2 separate regions of the Homo sapiens genome follow, and region 1 is linked to region 2. Evidence: promoter capture Hi-C in human tissues and cell types (Jung and others, 2019). All regions are on one chromosome and are shown on one strand. The core of a region is centred on a gene start or on the middle of the fragment in contact, and the rest is flanking DNA. Distances in the headings are between cores, read along the strand shown. Region 1 has its middle 25 kb from the start of MIR3680-2. Region 2 holds the start of DOC2A (double C2 domain alpha).

Region 1 (4,087 bases), core at 188-2,687, 390 kb before region 2:
TCGCTGTGATCACTGGAACCGCTGTCCAATCTCAACAAGCTCCTACTTCAATTGGAACTTTCTTCTTGTGTAAGAACACCCCAAATGCATGAAAGAATATATATAACTCCTCAAGGCTCTTATGCAGCATCTTAGTGACGCTGCCAAGCAAGAGAGACGCCTTCCATGAAGCGCCATCATGCCAGTTACGGGCACGGCTCACTTGGCTTGGGGCCACTTCAACGGGCTCCTTCTGGATGATCCAGGTGACCGACTCGGTCAGCGGCGGGGTGGTGAGCGAGCCCACATAGGTCCAGTAATCCCAGCAGGTGGGCAGCAGAGCGGAGGGGTCGAAGGGGCGCATGGCCGCCCGCGCGTCCTGAGAGACCGAGAAGCCAAGGCCGTGTCAGTCCTCAGGCGGGACTAGGAGCTTCCATCTTGTCTCAGCACGGGAGGCCTTCATGGTGCTTGGAAGGAAGTGCTTTCCCCGAGATAAGGCCATGAGGCCACTGCTGTCACACTTGGAAGCAGTGATAAGAAAATGTGACCCTTCTATACAGAGCAAGGATTCCTGCCAACTTACATTGGTGGGAATTACATTACATTACACCAGCTTATGTTGGTGCTTACATTTTTCCTTTTGAAGTCATTTCTTGGGGCGCAGTAGCTCACCCCTGTAATCTCAGCACTTTGGGAGGCCGAGGCGGGTGGATCACTTGAGGTCAGGAGTTCGAGACCAGCCTGGTCAACATGATGAAACCCTGTCTCTACTAAAAATACAAAAATTATCCAGATGTGGTGGTGGGCGCCTGTAGTCCCAGCTACTCAGGAGGCTGAGGCAAGAGAATTTCTTGAGCCCAGGAGGCAGAGGTTGCAGTGAGCTGAGATCACGCCACTGCACTCCAGCCTGGGCAACAGAGTGAGACTCTGTCTCAAATAATAATAATAATAATAATAATTAATAAATAATAAAAACGCCATTTCTTTTAGCATACCTTGGCTGCAAAAAATATTACTTTTTATTGTGATAAAATATACATAACATAAAATTTACCATCTTAACCTTTTTTTTTTTTTTTGAGATGCAGTTTTGCTCTTGTTGCCCAGGCTGGGGTGCAATGGTGCGATCTTGGCTCACTGCAACCCTTCGCCTCCCAGGCTCAAGTGATTCTCCTGCCTCAACCTCCTGAGTAGCTGGGATTACAGGCACCCGCCACCACACCTGCTGATTTTGTATTTTTAGTAGAGACGGGGTTTCTTCATGTTGGTCAGGCTGGTTTTGAACTCCCAATCTCAGGTGATTCACCTGCCTCAGCCTCCCACAGTGCTGGGATGAGAGGCATGAGCCACCATGCCCAGCCCATCTTAACAATTTTTAAGTGTAAAGTTTCATGGCGTTAAATGCAGTCACATTGTGGTGCAACCATCTCCACCATCCGTCTCCAGAACTTTTCCATCATCCCAAACTCAAATTCTGTCCTGACCCCACTAAACACTATGTCCAGCTTCCTCCCCCAGGCCTGGCACCCACCATTCTGCTTCCATCTCTCTGAATCTGAGGACTCTGGGGACCTGATGTGGGTGGGATCCTGTGGTTTTTGTCTTTTGTGTCTGGCTTATTTCACTGGGCATAATGTCCTTCAGGTTTATCCACATTGGAGCATGTGTCAGGAGTCCCTGCATTGTTGCTTTTTTTTTTTTTTTTTTTTTCTGAGACGGAGTCTCGCTGTGTCACCCAGGCTGGAGTGCAGTGGTGTGATCTCGGCTCACTGCAAGCTCCGCCTCCTGGAGTTCAAGACCAGCTTGAACTCCTGGGTTCATGCCATTCTCCTGCCTCAGCCTCCCCAGTAGCTGGGACTATAGGCACCCGCCACCACGCTCGGCCAATTTTTTGTATTTTTAGTAGAGACGGGGTTTCACCATGTTAGACAGGATGGTCTCAATCTCCTGACCTCGTGATCCGCCCACCTCGGCCTCCCAAAATGTTAGGATTACAGGCATGAGCCACCGTGCCTGGCTTGCCTGGAGACATTTCTACTGCTACCTTACCGATCAGGGTATCCAGTATCTCCGTGATTACCTTCATCTGTCCCTGGAAACTGTGCCTGCCACCCTACGCTGCAGCCGTCCAGGGACTGGCAGGCCTCGGCCTAAAGGTCTGGAGGGTGGGCGACCTGCAAGACTCACAAGAGGGGAAGCCAACAGACATACCTATAGACGGAGTGCTGTGCCCCTGGTGCCGACAAGAAAGCCAAGGCTCGGGCTGGGTCAGCAACCGAATTCCAGTTTAGAGGCAGATTTGGTCGTGGACATGGCCAGCCACCTCAGTAAAATTAGAGAGGATTATTTTGCATTGAATACACTCACAGCCAAAAAACAAAAAAAAAGAGTCAGGGTCTTACTTTGTCAACTAGGCAGGAGTGCAATGATGCCATCATAGCTCACTGCAGTCTCTAATTCCTGGGCTCAAGCGATCCCCCCGCGTCAGTCTCCCAAGTAGCTAGGACACCATACCAGGGTTTAAAATTAATTGTTTGTAGCCAAGGGGTCTTGCCATCTTGCCCAAGCTGTTCTCCAACTCCTGGGCTCCAGTGATCCTCCTGCCTTGGCCTCTCAAAATATTGGGATTACAGGCATAAGCCACTGTGCCCAGCCAGCTCTTTTGGATATATACCCAGAAGTGTGTGATTGCTGAATCATAGGGTAGTTCTATTTATAACTTTTTATTTTTTTTATTTTTTTGAGGCAGAGTCTCACTCTGTCTTCCAGGCTGGAGTGCCGTGGCATGATCTCGGCTCATGGTGGTTGGGCCTGGCCGCAACACAGCCTTCATCAGCATCCCATGCCAACCAAGCACAACTCTGCACCTGTCCCTGGCCAGCACTGTGGGACAAGAGTCCAGTCCAAAGTGACAGAGTCCCTGTCTGCAAGGAAGATGGCCTCCCTGCTCAGCCACATCACATCACCTTGACTTTGCTGGGCCCTGGCCTTCCAAGGTGGAAGCCGGCAACCTAGATGCCTTGGGCTTGTCTCCTAACATCAAGCAGTGAGGGTCAGGGTCAAGAGAGGTGGCTGAGCTACCAGAAGGAAGCCCAGGAGTGTCCACGCCGGCAGACACATGCATCAGTTCTGTGCACACGTGTTCACGTTTATAATTATCCAGTTAATTAAAAAAAAAAAACAGCATTATAGGCTGGGCGAAGTGGCTCATGCCTGTAATCGCAGCACTTTGGGAGGCCAAGGCAGGCAGATCACCTGAAGTCAGGAGTTCAAGACCAGCCTGACCAACATGGCGAACCCCCGTCTCTACTAAAAATACAAAAATTAGCCAGGCATGGTGGCAGGTGCTTGTCATCCCAGCTACTCGGGAGACTGAGACACAAGAATTGCTTTAGCACAGGAGGCAGAGGTTGCAGTGAGCCAAGATTGCACCATTGCACTCCAGTCTGGGCAACAGAAAGAGACTCGGTCTCAAACAACAACAACAGCAACAAAACCCACAGCATTATTGTGATAGAATTCACATACCATGCAACTCTCCCATCTAAAGTGTACAACCTGGTTGGGCGCGATGGATCATGCCTGTAATCCCAGCACTTTGGGAGGCCGATGTGGGAGGACTGCTTGAGGCCAGGAGTTTGAGACCAGCCTAAGCAACATAACAAGAATCTGACTCTACAAAAAATACAAAAACTAGCCAGGTGCAGTGGTACATGCCTGTGGTCCCAGGTAGTTGGGAGGCTGAGGTGGGAGGATGGCTTGAGCCCCGGAGGTTGAGGCTGCAGTGAGCTGTGATCATACCACTGCACTCTAGCCTGGGTGACAGAGTGAGATCCTTTCTTAAAATAAGTAAATAGGCCGGGCACAGTGGCTCATGCCTGTAATCCCAGCACTTTGGGAGGCCAAGGCGGGTGGATCACCTGAGGTCGGGAGTTCGAGACCAGCCTGACCAACATGGCGAAACCGCGTCTCTACTAAAAATACAAAATTAGCCAGGCGTGGTGGTGCATGCCTGTAATCCCAGCTACTCGGGAGGCTGAGGCAGGAGAATCGCTTGAACCTGGGAGGCAGAGGTTGCAGTGAGCTGAGATCATGCCATTGCACTCCA
Region 2 (3,842 bases), core at 914-3,413:
GGCTAGGGAGCCGCTGATGGTTCTTGAGCATCAGAGAGGTACGGGCTTAATGGGACATAGATCAACCAACCAGCGGTTACAATGTCAGCTGTCCCCGAGCTGCTGCTGGGTGGTGGGGAGGGGGGCCCTCACCTGAGCACCTTGTGCGTGATGTCGTCATCTGTGATCCCGCTGTAAGTCAGGTCCTCATTCCACACGGGATTCAGTGTGTTCCTCTGAGTCTTCGTTTTTAGCTTATTGGCCTGGGATGTGGGGATGAAAGGTTCTCAATACCTGTCCTCCAGCCCCACAGGCTGGAGTCATGGGCTGGGCCGGGCGGGGCGAGAGGAGGCTGTTACCTTACAGGCTCCAGGCAGCAAGTGCAGCTTGACGTAGGGGTCGGCGAGGCCATTGAAATCCATGGGCTTGAGGCCCTGGAGAGGAGGGCAGGGGAGAGGGCTAGAGGCTCCCGGCACCTCTCTCCATCCCTCTTGTAGAGCTGGACCCTGGAGGAGCCCAGAAGGAGGGGGCAAGGGCAGGACGAAGGAGCAGGCCTGGGAAGGGAAGGAGGAATGGGCCCCCTCTGGGGGCTGCACGCAAACCGGGCCCGGGCTTGGGTGGCAGGGAGTGCCCACCTTGGCCCTGAGGATGCTACAGTGCAGAGTGCAGGAGGCCCGGTCGTAGAGAAGGTCAAACTCCAGCGTGCCTAGGGCGGCTGGAGAGAGAGGAAAGGCAGCATGGGTCGGTATGGAGACAGGTGTGTGCGAGAGGCCAGCAGGTGGGCACTGGCTCTGTGTGTCTCTCTCTCTTGCCAGCCCGCGAGTGTGAGTGCAAGAGGCTGAGTGGGCCCATGCGTGTGTGCGTCTGGGTCCCTGGCTCGGCCGCAACTGGGGCTGTGTGGGTGGTGGAGTGTCTCAGCAGAAATACTGAATATTGAGCCTTGCTGAAGCTGTAATCTCCACGCTGACTGCAGCTGTGGTGGCCGTCCCTGCCACCCCCCCACTGCCCTCCTCCCCTACCTACATGCACAGCCAGCAGGGCCCATCCCCCTCTCCCCCCACCACGGCAAGCCTGGAGACCCCCACCAGCACATGGGGCCTCCAAGCCCCCAGACTCACTGGCATCATCCGAGTCATAGCTGTCCACCTCCGCACCATCCTCAGGCGTGGTGGCCCCAAGGAGGGCTGCAGGGGGGGCCAGAGCCAGGGGGACCAGATGGGCGGGGGCCTCCCCGCCGCCCCCGCCGCCCCCTTCAGGTCCTGGTCCCCGGGGGAAGTAGTCAGAGATCTGGCGGATGGGCCGGATGGGCCCGGGGCACACGTTGATGGCCATGTGCTCCTGGATGTTGATGGTCATGCGATCGCCCCTGCGGCCCCTCATGCAGCACCCCTGGCTAGGAGAGGGCGTGTGAGCCAGTGAGCCCATCATACCTAGCCATCCTGGCTGAGGGCCAGGCGACGGCCTCCTCGGTCTGTGGGGCCCTCACTGGCCTCCCTTCCTAGGTGTCGAGGGAGAGGGTGGTGTGTGCCAGCCGGTGGCAGGTGGGAGGCCTGGGCCCTGCAGACCCCAAGCTGACTCCACAGGGGCTGGGCTGCCAACCCACTCCTTGCAGAAGTCGAGGTTGCACCACCCCGTCCTCACCCACCCACTTCTAGGTTGTCCCTGTATCATCTTGCCAGCTCCTTCCTCTCCTCCGGGGCTCCCCTCTGCTCCTGAGCCTGCCTGTCCCCCAAGGGGCCCTGCAGGGCCCCGCCTCTGTTTCTCGGAGGCTCTGTCCTCCTCTGCACCAGGCGCTGGTCTAGTCAGGGTGTCACCCACCCCTCTAGGCTCCAACTGCCCACTGTCCCCTCATTCAGCCCCAGGACCTGTCTGCCTGCCTGGTTCCCCCGCTCGCTCACCACAGCCCACGGTGGAGACCCCAGCCTCAGATGCCACCTCTGGCTCCTCAGGGGAGCCAGAAATTGCAGCCGCAGGAGAGCCGAACACCCCCGTAGCGCACACAGGCTGGCACGCTTCCCCGCACCCTCACGCCCCCGGCCTGCCCAGCCCCCTGCACCTGCCTCTGCCTCCAACAGGTGCCCAGGCACTGGGGGGACGGCGGGCGCAGGCTGGGCGGCGGCGGCCGGCGAGGAGAGCGCGGAGTCGAGCTGTGCGAGCCGAGAGGGAGGGAGCGCCGAGAAAGTGCGGGGAGGAGGGGGTGAGCGAGGTGGAGGCGAGGATGCAGCCGGCGCGGCGGCGGGGGACGGGGAGGGGCGCTGGGGCTGGGGAGGGGGCGGGATCTCGGACTCCCACCCGGGGCCCGCTCGGGAGCGCACGCGAGCGCGCACACACACGTGTGCTCGCGCGCGCACACTCACGCAGGGGCACGCGGACCGGCACACACTCGTGTGCACACATCCAACCGGGCACCCCCGCGCGCACACGCCCGTGCCCACGTGTGCACGCTCACACCCTTGCACACACCCAGGCGCGCGCTGGCACACTTACCCGGAGAACTTCGCACACACACGCACTCGCAAACACGCGGGCTCCCTGCGCCACCAGGAAGCAGCCGCCAGAATCGCCGGGTGTTCCCCAACTACTCCTGGGAGACCTGGCCCCCCGCCCCCGCCCGCGCGCGCGGCCACGGCGCCTCCCTCCCTCCCGGGTCCCCAAGGCCGGACCACCGGCCTCGTTGTCATGGCGACGCCGGCTCATCTCCCCCCACCCCCGCGCGTCTTCACGCCCCTCCCCCGCAGGGAGCTGGGGCCTCCCTCCTCCCTTCCCCACGTCCGTAGGGACCCACAGGTTGACAGGAGCAGGGGGTCGCCTGCTGTCACCGGCCGGGGATCTCGGGGTCTCCCGAGCCAGGCTGGGGAGCCTCACGATCTGAGGGAGGAGGCAGAGGTCTGATGCTGCGGCTTCCCCCACGCCCCCTCCCTTTGGCCGTTCAGGCCTCTCTCCTTGTGGCCCAACCCAACTCCCAGGGGCCCATGTCCCCTTACCAGGGATGGTATCTCCTTTGGGAACCACCCTCCCCCCTGCCATCCCCAGTTCTGCCCCGCAGGTGGGAAGGGGCGTCGGGGCTTGGCTCTGAAGGTCTCAGAGCCCTGCGGTAGTTCCCCATGGGCTGCCATTTCTCACCCAAACCTTGCCACCCCCAAGCCGCCCCCCTGCCCGGCCCTGCGCCTGCCACGGAGTGTCAGTCCACCCCTGGCCTTCGGTCTTCACTCACCTGTGCCCCAAACTTACCATCCCGAAGACACGAAGGGGCTTATCACCCTCGCTGCCCACCACTGACTCACCCAACCGTTTCCTGCAGTTCCTGGGACACACCTAGACGGCTCAGGCCTAGGGATCTTGGCTCACATGCGCTCCTCTACCTGGGAACCGCGCTTCCTTAGGAAGTCACCGTGGGTCCCCTCTTCCTAGGAGCCTTCCTGGGGCATCCCGCACTGCCCCTCAGCTCCAGCGCCGTCAGGACTCGGCTCAGCACCGCTTCGCCAGTGCCTCCCCCACCAGCAGGGAGTTCCACTGGAGCGGCTGATTCATCTGGGAGTCCCTAATGTCCCAAACTGGGCCTGGCACGAAGTCGGCATCTCTAAGTGCTGTTATTTAAAACAGCAATCTGGTTGCACGACAACTGAACATACCTAACACCACCTAATCTTACCCTTAAAAATGGTGAAGATGGTACATTTCGATATGCGTATTTCACGGCAATTTTTTTTTTTTTAAATAAGAGAAATGGGGCCGAGAGTGGTGGCGGGTGCCTGTAATCCTAGCTACTCCAGGGACTGCGGCGAGAGGATCGCTTGAGTGAAGCCAGCCTGGGCAACACAGTGAGACACAGTCTCTTAAAAAAAAAAAAAAAAAAAAGTAAG

Evidence for each region. Contacts are between HindIII fragments. The study calls those that stand out against the background at their distance.
Region 1: a contact is called between a fragment that was not itself captured here and the fragment with the promoter of DOC2A in region 2, in 1 of the 25 tissues and cell types used here (dorsolateral prefrontal cortex).

The regions. Positions count from the first base shown.
Region 1 is chr16:29,622,516-29,626,602 of GRCh38, forward strand. It overlaps the pseudogene CA5AP1. Among named protein-coding and RNA genes, the nearest start is that of MIR3680-2, 25 kb to the left of the region's middle. The HindIII fragment of the contact is 6,603 bases long and covers 1-4,087 here.
Region 2 is chr16:30,008,864-30,012,705 of GRCh38, forward strand. It overlaps DOC2A (double C2 domain alpha), which reads right to left and starts at 2,164. Exons shown (of 11, transcript NM_003586.3): 1 at 2,040-2,164; 2 at 1,098-1,372; 3 at 615-694; 4 at 339-413; 5 at 133-242. The coding sequence starts at 1,359. RefSeq lists a silencer at 2,071-2,130. The HindIII fragment of the contact is 30,604 bases long and covers 2,004-3,842 here.